Linked DNA regions of Homo sapiens: all the other regions are linked to region 1. Evidence: promoter capture Hi-C in 16 types of primary human blood cells and fetal thymus (Javierre and others, 2016). All regions are on one chromosome and are shown on one strand. Each heading gives the region's core, a stretch centred on a gene start or on the middle of the fragment in contact. The rest is flanking DNA. Distances are from core to core; before and after follow the strand shown.

Region 1 (4,788 bases), core at 432-2,931:
CAGTGAGCCTAGTCCAGAAGTTGCACCACTGGACTCCAGCCTGGGTGACAGAGTGAGACTCCGTCTCAAAAAAAAAAAAAAAAAAAAGAATTATACAGTAAGTCAGTACCATATCAATATTTGGAGCACAGGGTTTTATACCATAAATCTATTATTTTCATTCAGATAAATCCTCCTCTTTCTTCTTTTTGGGGAATCTTTTAAAAAATTTTTAATTTAATTTGAAGTTCCAGGATACATGTGCAGGACGTGCAGGTTTGTTACATAGGTAAACGTGTGTGCCATGGTGGTGTGCTGAACCTATCAACTTATCACCTAGGTATTAAGCTCTGCATGCATTAGCTATTTATCCTGATCTGGTAATCTTTTGAGTCTGTAAGTTTTCTCATTCCAGTAACCTCTGCTGTTCCTGAGATAGTGCAAGATTCTAGTATTTTCTTCTATTAAAAAATTTTTTTTTTGAGACGGAGTCTAACTCTGTCACCCAGGCTGGAGTGTAGTGGCATGATCTTGGCTCACTGCAACCTCTGCTTCCTGGGTTGGAGCAATTCTCCTGCCTCAGCCTCCCGAGTAGCTGGGATTACAAGTGTGTGCCACCATGCCCGGCTAATTTTTGTATTTTTAGTAGAGACGGGGTTTGGCCATGGTCTTGAACTTTGGCTGGTCTTGAACTCCTGACCTCAGGTGATCCACCCACCTCGGCCTCCCAGAGTGCTGGGATTACAGGCATGAGCCACTGCGCCCGGCCTAAAACGTTTTTTTTTTTTTTTTTTTTTTTTTTTTTTTTTTTTTTTACCACTTTACCAACGTGCCAAATAATAGTGCATATATGCAGTATAATACATTTCATATCTGCACCTACTTCAAAGTGTATTCTGCCCTTTGGGATAAGCCAAAGGTGAGCTAATATCTGCACATGATTTGTTTTGCTCAGATTCTCTTTGAAAACTTGTAGATTTGATGGGTGTTGTGAGTAAAGAAGACGGACATCTCTTCGATACCCGTATTTCCCTCCTAAATTGGTAATGCTGTGGTGACATATTCAAGGTATGTGAAGGATTCTTAAACAGAATATAAAGGCTTGCCCTGGGCCCCATAACCCTGTGAGAATAAAAGTCCCTTTGTAAGTGGGTCTGAATAGCTTCTAGCTTCTAGGATGTTCTGTGCATTAGAATGCTTACAAGCTTTGGCCCCCTAAGTGGTTACACCGATGACCACCCTATCATGCTGGGTTCCGTGGTGAACTGAGAGATGCCATTACCTTTCACCGCCCTTGGCCGGACACTCACGGTGGGCCTAACTCCGGTGGTAATTCCATCCCTCACTGCGGGACCTTGACATCCCCGAGCTGAAGCCCACTTCCTCCCTGACCTCTGGAGCCCAGCTGAGCGGCTCCGAGAGCTCTGCCATGACTCCTAACCGGGTGGACAGGGGGGCCGGGCAGCCGCGGCGCACACGCTGGGCGTCGTCCCTAGCAGCAGAGGAGACCAGAAGGTGAGAGTCCCCATGCCGCAGCCGGAGGGCCGGGGTGGGCTTGCACCGCTATCGCGAGAGCTCGTGAGGTGGGGGCGGCGGGGAGCTGGGGAGGGGCTCGCGGAGAGCCTGCCCCGCCTCCCTTTCCTTCCCCTCCCCTGGAGTGATTCAAGACGAGCGCTACCCACTTCCGCCCCCTCCCCCTGCCATTGGAACTAGCTGAGCCGAACTAGTTGCGGCCACCGAGCAGCCGGCTCTCGGCACCTCCTCCTCCGCCTCCCTGTCTCCTGTTCCATTCGCCTTTCCTCTTCTTTCCTGGCCCACGCCGCTCCGAGGCCTCGCGACCGCCGAGCCTGCAGCCTGCCCCGCGGCCAACATGAGCTTCTTGTTGTGAGTAGCCAGGCCCCGCACGCGCCGGCTTTGTTCGGGTGGACCTGGGCCCCCGCCCGCCGCCCGCCGCCCGTCGCCCGCCCTCGTCCCGACCCTCCTGGCCCAGCGCTCCCGGGGCCCGGCGTCACCACCAAGCGGGGCCCCGGGACTGCGCGGAGCGCTCGGACTACCTAACCGCCGCCTCCCCATAGGGCTTCGAGTACTCGTGGGCTCCTGCAGCCCTGAGGAGGTTCTTCCCCCCCGGCACACCCCGGGGCCAGCGCCTGGATTCCTTCATCACCCCCGTCTCTGCCTTCGCTCGCATTCCCGGGCTTGTTTGTGCGCTTCTCGTGGGTATCTCCCACTCGCCTGCACAATCCGTATCCAAGCGGTGCTCGGTTGAATGGCTCCGTCGCGGCTGCCCATTGCTCTTTTCTGGGTCCCAAGCACAGAAGATAAGACTGTCGTACTTTCCCCTGTCATCCCAGGACCCTTTTAACTTCCTCTCTCGTCTTAGGGCTGGGAAGTTGGGATGACAAGTTCTGTAGATGTAACACTGAAACAAGGCTACTTGCGGGTCGGGATCCCTTGGACACAGACGGGGGTCCCTGAGAAAGGGGTCTGGAGCCGCCCCCTTGCTTCCTAGAGGCGCCCTTCCTCCCAGAGGACTTCCCTGAAGAGGATGAGTTTTATCTTTTTAGACAACCAGCAAATAGGTTTTGGATAGTGTGCCCTGCCTAGGTTGATTAGGTCCACTGGGGAGTTGTTTTGAAAATCATTTGTAAATGCCAACTTTGGCGTCATGTTTAGTGCTGGTCATTATTTCACTTACTTATCGTTTGTTCCAGACGAGTGGAGGGGAACGTGGAGGGGGAAGGGCAGAAGGATGGGATGGCCAGATGTGGATATGGAGGCAGTAGATAAGCCTCAGGTCCTCTGAAAACAGGGGTTACAGCCTGAGGAATAACTCCTTTGAAGGCTTCGTTGTGATGCACTCATTCCATGTTTAGTCTGTGTTTAGAAAACTAATAAAAAACTTAGAAGTTGAAACTCACCCATATACTGTTTTACTGTTGTGGAGAAATTAGCATTTAAAGGATATTTTCTTAAGATTTCTCTTCTTTCCTTGCCTAATAATTTTTAGTCATTACATTGACGTCTGAATACTGAGAATTTAATTCACTCTTATTTTCACATGCTCACATCTAGAATTTTTTTTTTTAGGGTGTTTAAGCAAAACTGAACAAGGCTGACCTAGGGGCAGACTTGATATTTCCAATATGCATAGGGGACCTGGCTTGTGTCAACTTGCCTAAAACCTTTAAACGGAAAGGGATTTCTTAGGCTCCTCCTAGAAGTTGATTCTGAGTTTGTCGGATTGGCATAGGGCTAGATGACAGGACTGGGTGATTTTATAAAAAAGTCCTTGTTTCTTATTTTAGTTCTTTTTTTTTTTTTTTTTTTTTTTTGAGACGGAGTCTCCGCTCTGTCACCAGGCTGGAGTGTGTAGTGGCGTGATCTCGGCTCACTGCAACCTCTGCCTCCCGGGTTCAAGCGATTCTCCTGCCTCAGCCTCCTGAGTAGCTGGGACTACAGGCCCGCGCCACCACGCCTGGCTAATTTTTGTATTTTTAATAGAGATGGGGGTTTCACCATGTTGGCCAGGCTGGTCTCGAACTCCTGATTTCAAGTGATCTGCCTGCCTTGATCTCCCAAAGTGCTGGGATTACAGACGTGAGCCCACCGTGCCTGGGCAGTTTCTTGTTTTAGTTCTAATCACCATATTCAGGTATCTCAACTTGAAGCTTCTCATCTTGAGCTTAATTTTACATTGCTAATGTTTGATTGTTTTCAAGAATTTAGAAGCTGTATTCAAAATAGCACTGTAGATGATATCCATGACTACTGCTGATGGGCTTGTGTCTAGTAAGCTAAATTGGTTAAAGCAAGGCCAGTCGCGGTGGCTCATGCCTGTAATCCCAGCACTTTGGGAGGCCAAGACAGGCAGATCACCAGGTCAGGAGTTCGAGATCAGCCTGGCCAATATGGTGAAACCCCGTCTCTACTAAAAATACAAAAATTAGCTGGGCAAGGTGGCACGCACCTGTAGTCCCAGCTACTTGGGAGGCTGAGACGGGAGTATCACTTGAACCCGGGAGGTAGAGGTTGAAGTGAGACGAGATCGCGCCACTGCACTCCAGCCTGGGTGGCAGAGTGAGACTCTGTCTCAAAAAAAAAAAAAAAAAAGGTTAAAGCAGGGAAGAGCCATATTTGGCTGAAACTAGGGGATGGAGAAGTTTCTGATGCTATTTTTTGAATACAAATACAGTAGAATCCTATTTTTACATGGCTCAGTATTTAATAGATTCAGATTTGTGGTGGATTAGTTTGTTTCTCCTGAAGGTTAGTAACTACAAAAGAAATCTTGCTGTAACTAATGTATATAGAACTTTAGAGCATTTGCACTATTTGGGGCACAATTTTTCAGTTAGGTTATATCTATCTAGCAGTTGATATATTCTCAACATATTTAGCCCATGTGCTTGACAATCAGAAAAGTTAATTCAACATTTTCAGTTTTGGTCTTTGTCTACCGTCAATTAAAAATCCAAAGTGAACACCACATGGAAATGATTATTATTGGAAGTGAAAGAACAAAGCTTTGGTTATTTCTTCTATTTGTTATTTGGTATAACTGTCTGAATACTGTTTCTTTTTTTTTTTTTGGAGACAGGATCTCACTCTGTCGACCAGGATGGAGTGCAGTGGCATGACCACAGCTAACTGTAGCTTTGACTTCCCAGGCTCAGGTGATCCTTTCATCTCAAACCCCCTCCCCGCTACAAGTAGCTGGTACTACAGGTATGCTCCACTATGCCTAGCTAATTTTTTTTTTTTCGGTAGAGTCAGGGTTTTGCCATGTTGCCCAGGCTGGTCTCCTGGGCT
Region 2 (4,239 bases), core at 395-2,894, 87 kb before region 1:
GCACAAAAGTATCATTCATGGAGTGAGCTGGTGGAAGGTAAAGTTAAGAAAAAATAAAGTATCATTCATATTCAATTACAACATCTATCACAAATACTATGTTCTTCTAGCATAACATTGCTCGTATTCCGCAATTTATTTTTGTCTTGCTGTTACCCAGGCTGGAGTGCAGTGGTGTAACCTGTGTGATCTCAGCTTCCACTTCCCAGGCTCCAGTGATACTCCCACCTCAGCCTCCTGAGTAGCTGGAACTACAGGCGTGAGCCACCATGGCTAGCTAGTTTTTGTATTTTTGGTAGAGATGGGTTTCACCATGTTGCCCAGGCTGGTCTCAAACTTCTAAGCTCAGGTGATCCACCTGCCCCGGCCTCCCAAAGTGCTAGAATTACAGGTGTGAGCCACCATGCTCAGCCCCATCTTGCTTTCTTGAGGAGGCAAGAAATGAATGAATCAACAGCCAGCCCATCAGAAACTGTTAATAACTTGTCTCCCTAGCTCTTGGTCTTTATTCCCAAATGTCTGCCATCTTCTGTCAAGCAGCAGCAGCAAAGGTTCAGAACCTCTTTATTTCCATCATAACCAGGTATTTTTGTTTGTTTTTGTTTTTGAGACGGAGTCTCACTCTGTTGCCCAGGATGGAGTGCAGTGGCGTGATCCCGGCTCACTGCAACCTCTGCCTCCCTGGTTCAAGCAATTCTCCTCAGCCTCCCAAGTAGCTGGGATTATAGGCATGCACTATCACACCCGGCTAACTTTTATATTTTTAGTACAGACAGGGTTTCACCATGTTGGCCAGGCTAGTCTCGAACTCCTGGCCTCAGGTGATTCGCCCACCTCGGCCTCCCAAAGTGCTGGGATTACAGGAATGAGCCACCAAGCCAGGCCATAACCAGGTATGTTTTCAAATCACAAGTCTTTGAATAAACTTGTTAAATTTTGCCTGTGGGCTTCAAATTAAGATTCTTAAACATATCTTGGTGATCCTTGTGACCTTCAATGAATCCATCCATATTCTAGAGTCTACTTTGGTTATACACCTTCATGCTTTATCCCCAAGTGCTTTCAGAACCATTTCACTAAGATGTTCTAATGCTGACATAAAACCTTGAAACTATAAAAGGGGAGATTTAAGAATTCAGCGATGTAAAAATAGTTTCTGCCATCATGAGCAAACAAAGAGGACAAACTGGGGGGAAAAGGTATTTAAAGCTCACTATAGGAACAAAGTACTCCTGCAGATTAGTTAAAAGACCAAAGCCAATAGAAAAGCGGTTAATAAACATCACACAAAGGCAATCAGCCAAACTCAGATTATGGAAACCTACAGGTTAATCTTATTTCTTCAGCAAATAAGAAAAAAATAAATGGATGGCAAAACATCCTGAATAAGAGAAGAAACAGACACTTCAACTTTACTAAAGATATCCAAATGGCTAGTAAGCTTATGAAAAAGTACTATTCATTGTCAGGGAATGCAAATTAAAACCAGAAGATACCACTACACAATGGCTAAAATTATAGACTGACAACAGCAAATGGTAAGGATATGGACCTACTAGAACTCTGGGAATGTAAACCAGGATAACCATTTAGGAAAAGGTTTGTCGTCTTCTAGTAAAATTTAAAATACATCAACTCAGGATAATCTCACTCCTAAATACTTATCCAAATTAAATTAAATTAAAATGTAGGTTCACAAAAAGGTTGTACATGTTCATACCAACTTTATTCATGATAGCCCCAAACTAGAAACAGCCCATTGTTCACCAGTTAGTTGTTCACCTAACAGGTGAAACGTTAAAATGTGGCATTCATACATAGAACACTGCTCAGCCATAAAAAGGAACAAAGCTTAAACACACTGATGAACATACAAACATGCTGAGTAAAAGGAACTTACAGAATACATACTGCATAAGTGAGTCCGTTATATGAAGTTCTAGAATAGGCAAAATTAATCTACAGTGAACAAAATCCTAACAGTAGCTGACTGCCAGGGGAGGGAAGAAGGGACAGGAGAGAGAGGTGCAGGAATTGACTAGGTGAAAAAATTCAGATGTAATACAGATGTTCCAGACATAGGGGTTTGAGTTACATGCTTTTACATCAAAACTCATCAAATGAGTCTGGGTATGGTGGCTCACACCTGTAATCCCAGCTACTCGGGAGGCTGAGGCAGGAGACTCCCTTGAACCCAGGAGGTGGAGGTTGCAGTGAGCCAAGACCAGGCCACTGCACTCTAGCCTGGGCGATACAAGACTCCATCTCAAAAAAAAAAAAAAAAAAAGAAAAAACCTCATCAAATGATACACTTAACATTTATTCACCTTACTGCAAATCTCCCTCAAAAAAACTCCAATGACGGCTGGGTGTGGTGGCTGATGCCTGTAATCCCAGCACTTTGGGAGGCCGAGGCAGGCAAATGACTGGAGGCCAGGAGTTCCAGACCAGCCTGGCCAACATGATGAAACCCCATCTCTACTAAAAATACAAAAATTAGTCAGGCGTGGTGGTGCACATCTGTAATCCCAGCTACTCGGGAATCTGAGGCATGAGAATTGCTTGAAACTGGGAGGTGGAGGCTGTAATGAGCTGGGATCACGTCACTATAACTCCAGCCTGGGTGACAGAGCGACTGTCTCAAACACAAAAAACAAAAACAAAAACAAATTCCCATGACATGTATGCTGAAAGGATTAAAAGTGAAAAATGTCTACAACTTACTTGGACATGCATATAGAAAAAAAGATGAGACTGCAGGAGGCAGGCTATGGGATAAAGCATGGCAAAATGCTGCTTGTACAATCTAAGGGATGGGTATTGGCATCACCAAGATTTTATATACTGACAGAAAATGATCTTTAGGGTGTTTAGGTGGGAGAAAAGCCAAAATACAAAATAGCATGTACAGTATAATTTATATTTTTAAAAGAAATGACAACACCCACTAACACTTGCTTATAAATAAAGTAAAAGTCACTGCAAGCTTACACTAGAAACTGATAACAGGGCTGTGCGAGAATAGAAACTAAACAGCTGAATTACAGGAGGGGAAGGAGAATCTTCACTACCGTTTGTATCTCTTCAAGTTTATTTCCTTCAAAAAATAAAATATAAACAACTTTAAAATGAGCCTGCTTTTTTTTTTTCTGAGACAGGGTCTCACTCTGTCACTCAGGCTGGAGTGCAGCAACAGTCATGGCTCACTGCAGGCTTGACTTCCCAGGCTCAAGCAGTCCTCCCACTTCAGCCTCACAAAGTGCGGGGATTACAGATGTCAGCCACCACACCTAGCCTATTCTTGATTTTCATATAATCAGGCTTAAGACAGATTAAACCTTCCTTCCTATACTTCCTTTCTAAAAATAAGAAAACCACTAGAACTAAAATTCTGGACAGAAAATCCAGACACCTCACCAATGATGATATAAGGATGGCAGATTAAGTATATGAAAAGGTGCTCCACATCACTATGGGATTGGGAATTAAAACGATGAGACCACTATTCACCCATTAGCTAAAATGCAAGAGTGACATCACCAAATACTAATGAGGGTGAGGAGCTACAGGAACTCTTATTCATTGTCAATGGGAATTCAAAATAGTCATGTTGGAACAGTTTGGCAGTTTCTTCCAAAACTAAACATACTCTTAACTTACAATCCAGCAACCTGGTTCCTTGGTATTTACCCAAAGGAGCTGAAAACGAGTCTACACAAAAACCTGCACATAAATGTTTATAGCAGCTTTATTCCCTTCCTACAAACTTCAGATTCTCTTCTAATTTGCTGAACTTGGGGAGTGGGAGGGTAATGTATTTCTAATGCGATAGCGCAATTTGGATTGGAACTCTACTGCTGACATACATACCATTCTCCTCTATACTATAGGTCCTACCAATTCAATGTGAGTGTCTTCCGATAATTTAGGGGAAACTCTCAGAACAATGGAGTTTTTTGTATTTTGGTTTTTTTGATTTTGACAGAGTCTCACTCTGTTGCCCAGGCTGGAGTGCAATGGTGTGATCTTGGCTCGCTACAACCTCTGCCTCCCAGGTTCAAGCGATTCTCCTGCCTTGGCCTCCCAAGTAACTGGGATTACAGGCGTGTGCCACACCTGGCTAATTTTTGCATTTTCAGTAGAGCCGGAGTTTCACTAAGTTGGCCAGGCTAATCTTGAACTCCTGACCTCAAGTGACCCACCATGGAGGGTTTTAAATTCTGAAACAAACAGGATGTA
Region 3 (4,709 bases), core at 381-2,880, 110 kb before region 1:
CAAACTCTGACAAAGGCTTTTCCTTATAGAATAACCCAAAGCCTAGGTGAGGGTTGATATATAATGTCCCATGATTTAATATATGTGGTTTGGGGGAAAGGACAAGAAAAAACTATAATTCCACATATAAGAAGGTAGTTGCCCATTTACAAGTTCCAGTTATGTGTGTAAAACAGAAAAATTAAGTACCAAACCTATTAGGAAATTTTTTTAAAAAGTGGATTTAACTTAAATTACTGTGTACTTGAGGTTGGCTTTGGATATGGATTTTCTAAAAAGTGATGTTTTATTGTTTATCATCTAATGGCTGTAAACTGTAGTACTAGAATAAAAAAAATGGAAAATCAGCTTTTCCTCTGCCTGGTTCACCTTCATCTTACTTTTCTTTAGAATTTGTTTCTTCTCCATCTTTTCCCCCCCATAATTTCTTCACCTGTGTCCTGCAAAGTTTTTTTCCTCTCTCTGTCTCTCTGTGCATTCTTCCTTGGGTTATTTTATTTTGTGTTGTGAACTTGGTCTTCTTCCCCACCATGGCTTTTGTTTTTTATCACAAGTTCATGTGGCTCACATCCAGATTGCGCCAGGCTGAGCGAAGCCGCCAATCTGCTGAGTTGGACAACCGGCTCTTCAAACAGGACTTTGGAGACAAGATCAACAGTCTGCAGCTGGAAGTCGAGGAGCTCACCAGGCAGCGGTGAAGAGGGGGTAGCTTGAGCTGACAGGGTGGTCATGGGTAATTCTTAGGGTAGACAGCAAGAAAAGGGGTCTCATGACTTCCAGCCAGGTTGGCTCTGTCTTTGCAATGTCCTTTCTCTGGAATTGGAATTCAGAAAGCTTCACGTACTTCAACATTCCCCAAATCCGATCAACATGCTTTGTGATCAAAGAATTAGGAAATTAGAGCCCAAGATCCCAGATAAATAGTAATTATTAGCCAAAATAACACTAATAATAATATGTAATATTTCCTGAATTCTTACTGTGTGCCAGATACTTTAGGCACTTCACATGCAAACTCTCCTAATATCTTCATATCAACCCTATTAGTGATATTATTGCCTCCACTTTCAGATTAAAGTAGAGCTTAAGGCTGGGCGCAGTGGTTCATGCCTGTAATCCCAGCACTTTGGGAGGCCAAGGCAGGTGTATCACCTGAGGTCAGGAGTTCCAGACCAGCCTGGCCAAGATGGTGAAACCCCATCTCTACTAAAAATACAAAAATTTGCCAGACATAGTGGTGGGTGCCAGTAATCCCAGCTACTCGGGAGGCTGAGGCAGGAGAATTGCTTGAACCTAGGAAATGGAGGTTACGGTGACCTGAGATCATGCCACTGCACTCCAGCCTGGCAACAGAACAAGACTCCATCTCAAAAAAAGGTAGAGATTAGACAGGTTAAATGTGTCCAGATTCACACAGTTAAGCTTAGAAGTAGCAACATTATCATTTAAAAACCTGTCTCTCTGACAGCAAGCCCTTAACCATTCGTAATTACTGCACTTTAAGACAAGGGGTTGGCATTCTTTAGAGAATATGTCTGTATAGAATTCCAATTTTTCATCCTTTTCCTCTCCAACTTACCTCAGGAACCAGCTTGAGTTAGAACTAAAACAGGAAAAAGAAAGAAGATTACAAAACGACAGGAGCATCCCAGGAAGGGGTTCCCAGAAGTCAGAATCCAAGATGGTAATATTTGCTATTCCCTTGTTCTTTTACTTAATTTCAGTTTAAATTTTAGAGGCTACCTTGATAGTCCTGTCAGTTTTCCTTTACAGATCACATACTTAGTGGCTGTGTCCTCAAGTATGTAGATAGCAAACTAGTAATTATGTGAACAAATGAAAGCTTGATTCTGAGTCTGCCTCTAGGATACTTTCTCCAACTTGATTTCATTTGGAAAGGGGGATTTTAATAATCACAGTGACCCTATTTCCCTTTTAATAATTTTTTAAGTAAGATTATTTTGGTGTCTTAACAAAAATATATGTTTCTTGGATTTCTGCTAAATAATAATTTTAATAAAATAGTATAATAATCCCTCTCCAACCCTGAATTCCCCTTTAACAGAATTTTCCTCAATGTGGATTTGCTTCTGTATACCTTTTTCAAATCATGAGGATTTCATTTTGAGTATCCTTAAGGAACTTCTCGTGGGAATAATTAGGGAATTAGGCTTGAGGAAAGGAAGGTAATACAGAATAAAGAGCAAAAGTAGAAATTTCTACATAATAATCTTAGAAGGAGACCCCTCCAGCACCTCCAGTGATGAAGGAGCTACAATTGGGTAAGATCATCTCTGGGGCCCAGGAAATAATGAAATCAGAAAAACATAAAATAACTTTTTCTGTAAAAGACAGTGAAAAAATTGCCTTCTGTGTGTACATATTATACAAGGCGACTTCAAAAAGATCATGGGAAATGGAATTAAAAGGTAAAGATATATAAACTTTATTTCTCAACCTAAGTTCCATCAAGTTCAAGAGACTTTAGTAAGTGATGATACTAGTCATGTAGGCCATCCCTGAAGAACTGAGGGTCCTAGGAATTTAATCATATCAATACAATCTTTTTTACATTATTAACTGAAGAAAAATTGGTGCACTTTAATGATGTTTTAAGATTAGGAAACAAAAAGAAATCAGAGGCACCAAATCAGGACTGTAAAGTGGATGCCTAATGATTTCCCATCATAACTCTCACAGAATTGCCATTGTCTGATGAGAGGAATGAGTTAGGAGCATATTTCTGGTGGAATAGCACTCTCTGTTGAAGCTTTCCTGGGCATTTTTGTGCTAAAACTTTGGCTAACTTTCTCAAAACATTCATCACAAGTATTAGCCAGGTGTGGTGGCACATGCCTCTAGTCTCTAGTCCCAGCTACTTGGGAGGCTGAGGCATGAGAATCACTTGAACCTGGGAGGTAGAGGTTGCAGTGAGCCAAGATCACACCACTGCACTCCAGCCTGGGTGACAGAGCAACACTCTGTCCCCAAAAATAAAAAAAATTAAAAACACTCTCACAATAAGCAGATGTTGGCATTCTCTGGCCTTCCAGAAAGTCAACAAGCAAAATGCCTTCAGCATCCCTAAAAACTGTTGCCATGACCTTTGCTTTTGACCCGTCTGCTTTTGCTTTGATTGCACCACTTCCACCTCTTCATAGCCATTGCTTTGATTGTGCTTTGTCTTCAGGATTGTACTATGAAGTTGTTACATCTCCTGTTACAATTTCTCAAACAAATGCTTCAGGTTCTTGATCCCACTTGTTTATAATTTCCATTGAAAGCTATACTTTTGTCTGCAGCTGATACGGGCACAACAGTTTTGGCACCCATCAAGTAGAAAGTTTACTCAACTTTAATTTTTCAACCAGAATTGTATAAGCCTAACCAATTGAGATATCTGTGGTGTTGGCTATTGTTTCTACTGTTAATTGTTGGTCCTCTTCAATTAGAGCATGAACAAGATCCTCACAAATTGATGTGGATAGTCTGCTACTGCAGGCTTCATCTTCAACATCATCTGGCCCCTTCTTAAAGTGAGTTATCCTTTTGTAAACTGCCCACTTCTTTGGGGACAATCCTAAAGCATTGTCCCCAAAAGCTTTTTGTAAAGCATCAATAATTTCACAATTCTTCCATCCATGCTTCACCACCAATTTGATGTTTGTTCTTGCTTCAATTTTAGCAGAATTCATATTACTCTGATAGGGGCTCTTTTTTCTTTTCTTTTCTTTTCTTTTTTTTTTTTTTGAAACAGAGTCTCATTCTCACCTAGAACTGAGTACAGTGGCACAATCATGCCTCACTGCAGCCTCGATTTCCCAGGCTCAGGTGATCCTCCTGCCTCAGCCTCCTGAGTAGCTGGGACTGTAGGCACACACCACAAAACTCAGCTAATTTTTGTATTTTTTTGGTAGAGTCAGGGTTTTGCCATGTTGTCCAGGCTGGTCTTCAACTCCTGGGCTCAAGCGATATGCCTGCCTCAGCCTCCCAAAGTGCTAGGATGACAGGCATGAGCCACCGTGCCCAGCCCGGGGTTCTTTTCAAACTGATGTCTTATCCTTTTTAGTGACTCAAACCAAATCCTGATTAGATATATTAAAATAAGTTAATACAAGTTTATTTTGGTGCGAAATATTTTTGAAGTCCATGCACAGTCTTTTCGTAATACGCGTTTTCCATGAACTTTTTGAATACCTCTAGTATATAACAAAGCAGGAAGAGTTCATAAACTATTTAAAATTTCTAGAGAGTGAGCTGCTAATTTACTGGCAAATAGAAAACAATGGTATGTGGAAATTTATTAAATAGTACCACTACTAATAATTTAAAGTGTACAAAGAACCACTCTAGGCCAGGCACGGTGGCTCACACCTGTAATCCCAGCACTTTGGGAGGCCAAGGTGGGCAGATCATGAGGTCAAGAGTTCAAGACCAGCCTGGACAACATGGTGAAACCCTGTCTCTACTAAAAATACAAAAATAAGCCGGGCATGGTGGTAGTCTCCTATAATCCCAGCTACTCGGGAGGCTGAGGCAGGAGAATTGGTTGAACCCGGGAGGCGGAGGTTGCAGTGAGCCAAGACTGAGCCACTGCACTCCAGCCTGGGTGACAGATCAAGACTCCATCTCAAAAAAATAAAAAAATAATAAAAAAAAACACTCTGTGTAGCATGCTATCTTTATTATTTTAGTTTAGTGAACATAAA

Evidence for each region. The method cuts DNA at HindIII sites, captures the fragments that hold promoters and counts their contacts. A CHiCAGO score of 5 or more calls a contact.
Region 2: a fragment that was not itself captured here is called in contact with the fragment with the promoter of MOB1B in region 1 in 3 of 17 cell types (M0 macrophages, M1 macrophages and total B cells); the score reaches 7.7 in M0 macrophages.
Region 3: a contact is called between a fragment that was not itself captured here and the fragment with the promoter of MOB1B in region 1, in 1 of 17 cell types (M0 macrophages). The highest score is 8.0, in M0 macrophages.

Annotation. Positions count from the first base shown.
Region 1 is chr4:70,900,688-70,905,475 of GRCh38, forward strand. MOB1B (MOB kinase activator 1B) reads left to right here and starts at 1,682. Exons shown (of 6, transcript NM_173468.4): 1 at 1,682-1,863. The coding sequence starts at 1,850. It overlaps LOC124900711 (a long non-coding RNA gene), which reads right to left and starts at 1,544. Exons shown (of 2, transcript XR_007058132.1): 1 at 1,262-1,544. RefSeq lists silencers at 1,502-1,651, 1,962-2,011. The HindIII fragment of the contact is 2,463 bases long and covers 1,183-3,645 here.
Region 2 is chr4:70,814,079-70,818,317 of GRCh38, forward strand. It overlaps GRSF1 (G-rich RNA sequence binding factor 1), which reads right to left. Exons shown (of 10, transcript NM_002092.4): 10 at 1,705-4,239. Among named protein-coding and RNA genes, the nearest start is that of GRSF1, 24 kb to the right of the region's middle. The HindIII fragment of the contact is 410 bases long and covers 1,440-1,849 here.
Region 3 is chr4:70,793,211-70,797,919 of GRCh38, forward strand. RUFY3 (RUN and FYVE domain containing 3) reads left to right here. Exons shown (of 18, transcript NM_001037442.4): 13 at 575-694; 14 at 1,585-1,684. Among named protein-coding and RNA genes, the nearest start is that of GRSF1, 44 kb to the right of the region's middle. The HindIII fragment of the contact is 421 bases long and covers 1,421-1,841 here.